3 separate regions of the Homo sapiens genome follow, and all the other regions are linked to region 2. The links are contacts of gene promoters, found by promoter capture Hi-C in blood cells and fetal thymus (Javierre and others, 2016). All regions are on one chromosome and are shown on one strand. The core of a region is centred on a gene start or on the middle of the fragment in contact, and the rest is flanking DNA. Distances in the headings are between cores, read along the strand shown.

The links. The method cuts DNA at HindIII sites, captures the fragments that hold promoters and counts their contacts. A CHiCAGO score of 5 or more calls a contact.
Region 1: a contact is called between a fragment that was not itself captured here and the fragment with the promoter of C10orf88 in region 2, in 2 of 17 cell types (non-activated CD4 T cells and total B cells). The highest score is 6.2, in non-activated CD4 T cells.
Region 3: a fragment that was not itself captured here is called in contact with the fragment with the promoter of C10orf88 in region 2 in 2 of 17 cell types (fetal thymus and activated CD4 T cells); the score reaches 6.1 in fetal thymus.

Annotation. Positions count from the first base shown.
Region 1 is chr10:124,922,132-124,924,831 of GRCh38, forward strand. It overlaps a transcript of ZRANB1 not described here. Among named protein-coding and RNA genes, the nearest start is that of ZRANB1, 19 kb to the right of the region's middle. The HindIII fragment of the contact is 5,966 bases long and covers 1-2,700 here.
Region 2 is chr10:122,952,709-122,955,479 of GRCh38, forward strand. It overlaps C10orf88 (chromosome 10 open reading frame 88), which reads right to left and starts at 1,519. Exons shown (of 6, transcript NM_024942.4): 1 at 1,307-1,519; 2 at 121-324. The coding sequence starts at 1,470. LOC124902519 (a long non-coding RNA gene) reads left to right here and starts at 1,734. Exons shown (of 2, transcript XR_007062325.1): 1 at 1,734-1,860. RefSeq lists a silencer at 1,235-1,314. The HindIII fragment of the contact is 5,860 bases long and covers 1-2,771 here.
Region 3 is chr10:124,454,079-124,456,778 of GRCh38, forward strand. No RefSeq gene overlaps it. Among named protein-coding and RNA genes, the nearest start is that of NKX1-2, 5.4 kb to the left of the region's middle. The HindIII fragment of the contact is 2,105 bases long and covers 259-2,363 here.

The DNA of each region.
Region 1 (2,700 bases), core at 58-2,557, 2.0 Mb after region 2:
AAGATCTCTCTATATTGCCCCCAGGCTGGTCTTGAATTCCTGGGCTCAACCAATCCTCTTGCCTTGGCCTCCCAAAGTGCTGGGATTATTGGCATGAACCCCTGAGCCCAAATTATATATATATGTAAAATATATATATATATATGTAAAATATATATATATATGTAAAATATATATATATATGTAAAATATATGTATATATATATTTTTTTTTTAATAGGGTCTCACTGTGTTGCCCAGGCTGGAGTGTATGGCATGATCACAACTCACTGCAGCCTTGACTTCCCAGGCTCAAGCTATCCTCTCACTTCAGCCTCCCCAGTAGCTGAGACTACAGATGCGTGCCACCACACCTGGCTAATTTTTTTTTTTTTTTTTTAAGATGGAGTCTCTCCCTGTTACCCAGGCTGGAGTACAATGGCACGATCTCAGCTCACTGCAACCTCCACCACCCGGCTTGAAGTGATTCTCCTGCCTCAGCCTTCTGAGTAGCTGGGATTACAGGCACGTGCCACCATGCCCAGCTCATTTTTTTGTATCTTTTAGTAGAGATGGGGTGTCACCGTGTTGGCCCGGCTGGTCTCGAACTGACCTCGTGATCTGCCCGCCTCTGCCTCCCAAAGTGCTGGGATTACAGGCGTGAGCCACTGTGCCCAGCCTTGCCTGGCTAATTTTTGTATTCAGCCGTGGTAAGCCACTGCGCCTGGCCCTAAATTTTTTAGTAATGAAAAAAATAAACTACTACCCAGGCGTGGTGTCATGTGGCTGTAGTCCCAGCTACATGGGAGGCTCAGGTGGGAGGATCGCTTGATCCCAGGAATTCGAGTCCAGTCTGGGTGTATTAGTTTGTTTTCACATTGCTATAAAGAACTATCAGCCGGGCGCAGTGGCTCACTCCTGTGATCCCAGCACATTAGGAGGCCTAGGCGGGTAGATCACAAGGTCAGGAGTTCAAGACCATCCTGGCCAACATGGTGAAACCTCGTCTCTACTAAAAACACAAAAATTGGCTGGGCATGGTGGTGCACACCTGTAGTCTCAGTTACTCGGGAGGCTGAGGCAGGAGAATTGCTTGAACCCAGGAGGCAGAGGTTGCAGAGAGCCGAGCTACACTCCAGCCTGGGCGACAGAGCAAGACTCTGTCTCAAAAACAAACAAACAAAAAAAACAAACTAGCTGATGCCAGGTGCTGTGGCTCATACCTGTAATCCCAGCACTTTGGGAGGCCAAGGCAGGTGGATCACGAGATCAGGAGTTCGAGACCAACCTGACCAACATGGTGAAACCGTGTCTCTACTAAAAATTCAAAAAAATTAGCTGGGCGTGGTGGTGCGCACCTGTAATCCCAGCACTTTGGGAGGCCAAGGCAGGAGAATCTTGAACCCAGGAGGTGGAGGTTGCAGTGAGCCGAGATTGTGCCACTGCGCTTCAGCCTGCCTCGGAAGAAAAGAAAAAGAACTACCTGAGATTGGTAATTTATAAAGAAAAGGGGTTTAACTGACTAACAGTTTCTCATGACTGGGGAGGCTTCATGAAACTTATGGTAGAAGGTGAAGAGAAAAAAAGCACCTTCACAAGGCAGGAGAGAGAGAGTGAGCAGGGGAAGTGCCACGCTTTTAAACTATCAGATCTCCTGAGAACTCACTCAGTATCTCAAGAACAGCATAGGGGAAACCGCCCCCATGATCCGGTCACTTCCCACCGGGTCCCTCCCTTGACACATGGGGATTACAGTTGGCAATGAGATTTGGGTGGGGACACAGAGCCAAACCATATAACTGGGCAAAGTAGCAAGACCCTATCTCTTACCAAAAAAAAAGAATTTTTGTTATTTTTATTGTTCATATATTGAGGGCAAACTGTCCCTCTCACTCCTGAACTCACACACCGCAGTTTTGGTTTTTCATCCTTTGTCAAGTCAATTTTTAATGTGGGTGGTCTCTTTCTTTTTTTTTTGAGATGGGGTCTTGGTACGTTACTCAGGCTGGTGTCAAACTCCTGAGTTCAAGTGATCTGCCCGCCTTGGCCTCCCAAAGTGCTGGGACTGCAGGCTTGATGAGCCTCCGCACCTGGCCATAATGTGGGTGGTTTTAATTCATATAAATAAAAAATATTTGAATGCGTGATATTAATTGGAATCAGTTGCAAATCTTTCCAGTTTTTTCTAAAAAAAAAAAAAAGCAGCTTCATTGAGGTGTATTTCATATACCATAAAATTCACCCCTTTAAAGTATACAATTCAGTAGTTTTTAGTATACTTAACAGAGTTGTACAGCCATTACCAACCACTATATAATCCTGGAACATTTTCATGACCCCAAAAAGAAACTCTGTACTCATTAAGGAGTCATTTCCGCCTTGCCTCAGCTCCTGGCAACCACTAATCTACTTTGTCTCTCTAGATTTGCCTATTCTGGATATGTCGTAAATGGAATTGTACAATATATGACCGTTTATGTGGCTTTTTTCTCTTATAATACTTCCAAGGTTTATGTTGTGGCATGTGTCAGTACTTCATTCCTTTTTGTGGCTGGCTGATACTCCATTGTATAAACAGCATTTTGTTTATCCATTCATTGATTGATGGGCATTTGGATTTTTTCCACTTTTTGGCTATTATACTGCTGTGAACATTTGTGTACAAGTTTTTGTTCAGATGTAAGTTTTTACTTCTCTTGGGTATATACCTACAGATGGAAT
Region 2 (2,771 bases), core at 269-2,768:
TTTTATCTTCTCTCCCATAACATATGGTATCAATATCAGAGAATCAATAATTATTGCAAAAAGTGAGAAAAATCAAAACACTACTTCAGAAGAACACTTTCCCGTGTACAAGTCACACACCTGTCATCCAGGACAGTACAAACATTCTTGCCCCTACTGGTTCCACAGTACTCCTCTCCTAAGTACACTTCCATATTTCTTGCTGAACTTAAAATGCCAATAGAAGCGATTTCTTCACCTCCATCAGGGCCACACCTCAGGTAAAGGAAGCAGGGGTTTTCATCTTTGTTGTTGTGGTTTCTCTTCAAAATCACCAGATCCTGACTGAGAAGAAAATTGGTGAAAACATCACACAGTATAGTTCTCTGAACATGACTCTTCTTTTTTGAGACGGAGTCTGGCTCTGTCGCCCAGGCTGGAATGCAGTGGCTCCATCTCGGCTCACTGCACGCTCCGCCTTCCGGGTTCACGCCATTCTCCTGCCTCAGCCTCCCAAGCAGCTGGGACTACAGGCACCCGCCACCGCGCCCGGCTAATTTTTTGTATTTTTCGTAGAGACGGGGTTTCGCCGTGTTAGCCAGGATGGTCTTGATCTCCTGACGTCGTGATCCGCCCGCCTCGGCCTCCCAAAGTGCTGGGATTACAGGTGTGAGCCACCGTGCCCGGCCGGGGCTTCTTTCTTCTAACTCACTTCCACTTGCCCTTGAGGTCCAAGCACCTTCCCAAGCATCCAAGAAGCGCTCAACACAGAATTCATACGGAAATGAAGGTGTCACACATCAGGGCTTTCCCAAACTCTATTTTTTCCTCAATCAACATTCTACTCAATCCCCTGCAATTGACTCTCGGATAATTACATAAATCACTGGGCACCTACTGGGTGCAGGGCACAATGAAAGACAAAAGTGTATCTTTTTCGAAATTAAGTCGACAGCGATCATCTATAGCTGGACTTTTTACACAGCCTGTTTTGGTGGACAGGAGGTGTCTTGTTTGAGGGTAGAGGGGCGGACTGACTTTGACAGCAGCCCTGAGGGGCTATCACGCCTGATGGGGACGTTATATGAAATTCCGAGTCCGGGTCACCTTCCCCCTCTCACGCCCAGGAGCCTCGGCCCCTTCCCGGCCGGACCCACCCCCCTCCGCCCACCCCGGACGACCTCGCAGCTCCCCTCCCCAACTAGAGACCTGGTACCAACTGCTCTCCCGGATCCCGGGCTCAGACCCTCTCGCCTCCCCTCACAGCTCCCCTAGAAGCGCGGCAGTTGCCGAGCATAGCGACCCCGTCCCCGTCGGCCCGGCGCACCCTGGAGCAGGCGGTGCCAGCAGCTCCTCCCAGTCGAAGTCACCGGGGCCGAGACCGGCCCGGGTGAGGAGGAGGCTGTGGGTCAGGGCCCCGCCTGCAACATCCCAAGAAGAGGCCAGCGTGGGGCGGCGGGTGAGGCCCCCGTCCTCGGTCCGCGTCTCCATTCCGCCGCCTTCAGTCAGGCCAGCCCAGCCCCGGAACCTCTCTTCCAGTGCTTGAATTTCCGCCGGTACAGCGTGGAAATGGGCAGGCAAAGCGACTTCCGGCTCACTCCGCTTCAAGTACCCGCCGCTTCTTGCTTTGGTGGGGAGAGCAGGCACCAGAGACACGCATGCGCATGTGCCAGCTGGCCTCAGGCGCGGCGTTCAAAGTGTGCGGGGAGGAGGTCGAGAGCGGAGCATGCGCACTGGCAGACCCTTGCTCTTTCGCTGGAGACTATGCGCAGGCGCGGTGCACTGCGCGCCGGCACGAGGGTGTTTTCGACGTTGGCTGTGGGGAAACAGCAAGCGGCGTGGACGACCGTTGCTGAGCTGGTGTGGAACGTCTGTGATCAGGTAGGTGTAGTCTCGTCGCTCTACGCTGCGTGCAAGACCGACTCCTGACCTCGTTCTTTCCCAAGGGGACGCCAGGGCCTTTTCTGCTTCCATTCCGTCGGATCTGCAGCATTTGTGGCAGCTAGCGCGGCGGACGCGCTGCCGATTCGGGTTATTTTTACTTCGAATTCTCCTAGCCTCCCTCACACATATTCTCGCTTTAGAGGGGGGCTGAAGCGGATGATGGGGTTTTGGGGTTGAAGGGCATCTGTGATGGGCATTGAGCCACGCTGGCCTTCGCCGGGTGCTGTCTCAGCTGACGCCCCCTGACCCCATGTGCAACCCTCAGGCCGCAGGAACCCGGGCATCCAGGGCTGGACGCTCTAGGTGACAGAAATTTGAAATGCAAGAAAGACCCAGACACCGAAGGCAGGGGCTGCCCCATGAGATCGCTCCTCATGGCACTGGAAACAGCGAGTGGAAAGGGGGGGTCTCAGAACTCTGTTGAAGTAGAATATGAACTCAGTCTTGAAGGAACTTAAGGCTACGGATGCAGAACAGTGGGAGCAGATGGAACTTTCTAGATGCCCCACGGGATGGGACTGTATATAGTGTGCCCCCTCATCCTCCTCCTGTAGAGGCTTGTGCAGATTATTTTTCTGTCTTTTGAAAAAAGCAAACTCTGAAATTCCACTTGTCTATAATCTAGAGTTCCAAAGTTGTGTTTAAGGTGGTATCCTCTCTAGGAAATAACGTTTTTGCTCACCCATACTCTAATTTTCTTTCAGAGCTGTCTATTCTGGGTTCATGACTCAGTGCGCATTACTTTAATCTTTTTGCTTATGTTTTCGTTTGAGTTTATGTACTAGGACTTGTGCCCTCTAGCTAAAAATGAGAATAAACTTTGCATTCTGTTTACCTGTGTCAAAGCA
Region 3 (2,700 bases), core at 61-2,560, 1.5 Mb after region 2:
CTGACCTGTCCTGATAGCAAGTGATGCCTGTAACAAGCTCGGGATCAATATTCATAGCGGGTGTCCTGGGCTGATAACACTATCCAAGACAATGTTCACTATCCGTGCAGACAGCTGAGATATTGCACCATTAGGGATGTTGTGTTAAATAACCTGATCCATTTCTGGGGCTATTTAATGAATTTCACAGTTTAGATAGTATCTTTAAGGAGAAGGCAAAGGCTATTCCGGAGGCACTGATGCAAATCAATGGTGCCAAGCTTCCTAAGGTATTCCACAAACAAAGGTGCCTATAATTCCAGCACAGCCTTGAAGAGCCGCTGAGTGCCATGAATAGTGTTAACAATGGAAAGAATTTGCAGTTTATGCAGAGGGAGTGGGGGGGAGGGGGCAATATTATGAGCCGTGTTAAAGCATTTTAGATAAAATCTTATGTTCCTAAAGTAAAATGCAACTGAAATTCTCCAGGTAAAACCCTGCGTTTTGAGCCAGCCCCCAGGGTAGGATATATGTGCCAAAGAGACAGCTTCATAAGACACAGCTTGATGACAAAGAGGGACACCTCAACTGCCAGACAGCCTGTGGGTAACCCCTTTTCCCAGTACCTCAGCCACCTTCCCCAAGATGTGCTTCTTCTACTCAAATTGGTCTGTAATATGGGAGAGGGTAAGCACTAGGTTTTAGAAGGAAGCCACAGATAGCAGAATCCATTGTTTGTTTACTGGACTCTATCTCCCTTGGTGCTGGAGAGGTCATTTACAATTAAAGGCTAGCATTTACCATTTCCCACCAGAGCTTTGAACTCTGGCTGCCAAGCACAGCAAGTATTCCCCCCGGCAAAAAAAAAAAAAAAAAAAAAACACCTCATAGACTAACTTGTGAAAGCTGAGTTGAAAATATAGCCTTCCCACCTGACCCCAAACCAAAGTTAAAAAAAATCAACTCCCTCATCTTAGGGCATGCTCCCTGCCACTGGTGGGTGCTTGAGCTTAATGGGCAAGGAAAATGGAGACGGGTGGCCGCTGAGGACCACATGCTCACAGAAGTTATGGAGATGCAGAGACTCAGCAGGGACATGGAGAGTCAAAAACAAGTGTGCAGGCTGGACGTGGTGGCTTACATCTGTAATCCCAGCACTTTGGGAGGCCGAGGCGGGCAGAACACCTGAAGTCAGCAGTTCAAGACCACCCTGGTCAACATGGCGAAACCCTGTCTCTACTGAAAATACAAAAATTACCCAGGTGTGGTGGCAGGCGCCTGTAATCCCAGCTACTGGGAAGGCTGAGGCAGGAGAATCACTTGAACCTGGGAGGCGGAGGTTGCAGTGAGCCGAGATCACACCATTGCACTCCAGCCTGGGCAACAAGAATGAAACTCCGTCTCAAAAACAAACAAACAAACAACAAAAACAAGTGCAGAGCAGAGCGGAGAAGCCACGAGAGACAGGCAGACAGGTGGGTTCCAGCTGCTGCCACTGTTGCTGACTTCTTCCTGATGCTGGTTGTTCCATTCCGGGTTCCCTGGGAGCCTCACTGCATCCCTACAATACTATTTCTTCTTGAGGGCTTCCCTGACTTACCCCACGCGGACTGGAGCACTCCTTCCCACATTGTTTCTGGGGCACGCTGCCATCATAGCCCTTGATGGACATCTCTTGGTTTTGCCTGATCTGAGGATCCACTCCCCCTTTTCTGGTGTCTGTAGCTGATTTTGATGAGATCCCCCTGGGCCCCCACCCTTGTATGTGGTAGTGATGGGACTGCCAATCAGGCCCCCCAACCTTCTTCTGGCCGGGAGGTAAGAGTGAGCCCCTGCAGTAGAGTCCTACTGGCCTCTCTCCCGGGAGTATCTGAAGCAGAGTGACACCGCTTCATTGTGGCAGTGGTGCCCAAAACTAAATAATCTGTTATTTCCCACTCTTGACGCTGATGGTTCCAGTACTTGCCCAGGTCTGGTTGTTCAGCATTTCCTTTGATTTTGTAAATTGCCTACACTCTTCCCAACCTTCTCTTCCCCTCTGCATTTTGGAATTCAATTAGCCAGAGTCAAGGAACCCTGACAGGCACAGCCTTTATCACACTGCCTGGCATACAGATTCTGGTCCTTGGATTGTCTTAAAGTCAGGGAGGGCAGAGCGTGCATCCCTGTGCCCACCAGTACCTTGGTGTTTGGTAGGTTGAAGAGTCGAAAGCAATAAATGGTGGCCCAGTAACACAAACCCAAAGCTCCACAGTTTGACTAAGATGGATTGGAAACCCATGAGAGACCATATAGGCTGAAGACAAAAATCGGATCAAGAAATATTTAGGTACGGATAGAGGTTCATAAAGGGTCTGACTCCCATGCTGAGCATCTGTGGAACAAGCTTATGTTTTTATTCAGGTCATCCATGCTGGGTACCATGCTTTTCATAAAGAAAAATGCAGGGGCCAGGCACAGTGGTTCACACCTATAATCTCTGCACTTTGGGAGGCTGAGGCGAGAGGATACTTGAGCCCAGGAGTTTGAGGCTGCAGTGAGCTATGAGTCATGCCACTGCACTCCAGTCTGGGTCATAGTACAAGACCCTGTCTCAGAAAGGAAGGAAGGAAGGAAGGAAGAAAGGAAGGAAGGAAGGAAGGGAGGAAGGGAAGGGAACAGAAAATAAAAATGCAGGCGTAGAACCACCATGAATTTAACCCCGTGTGGTGTTTCTGACAC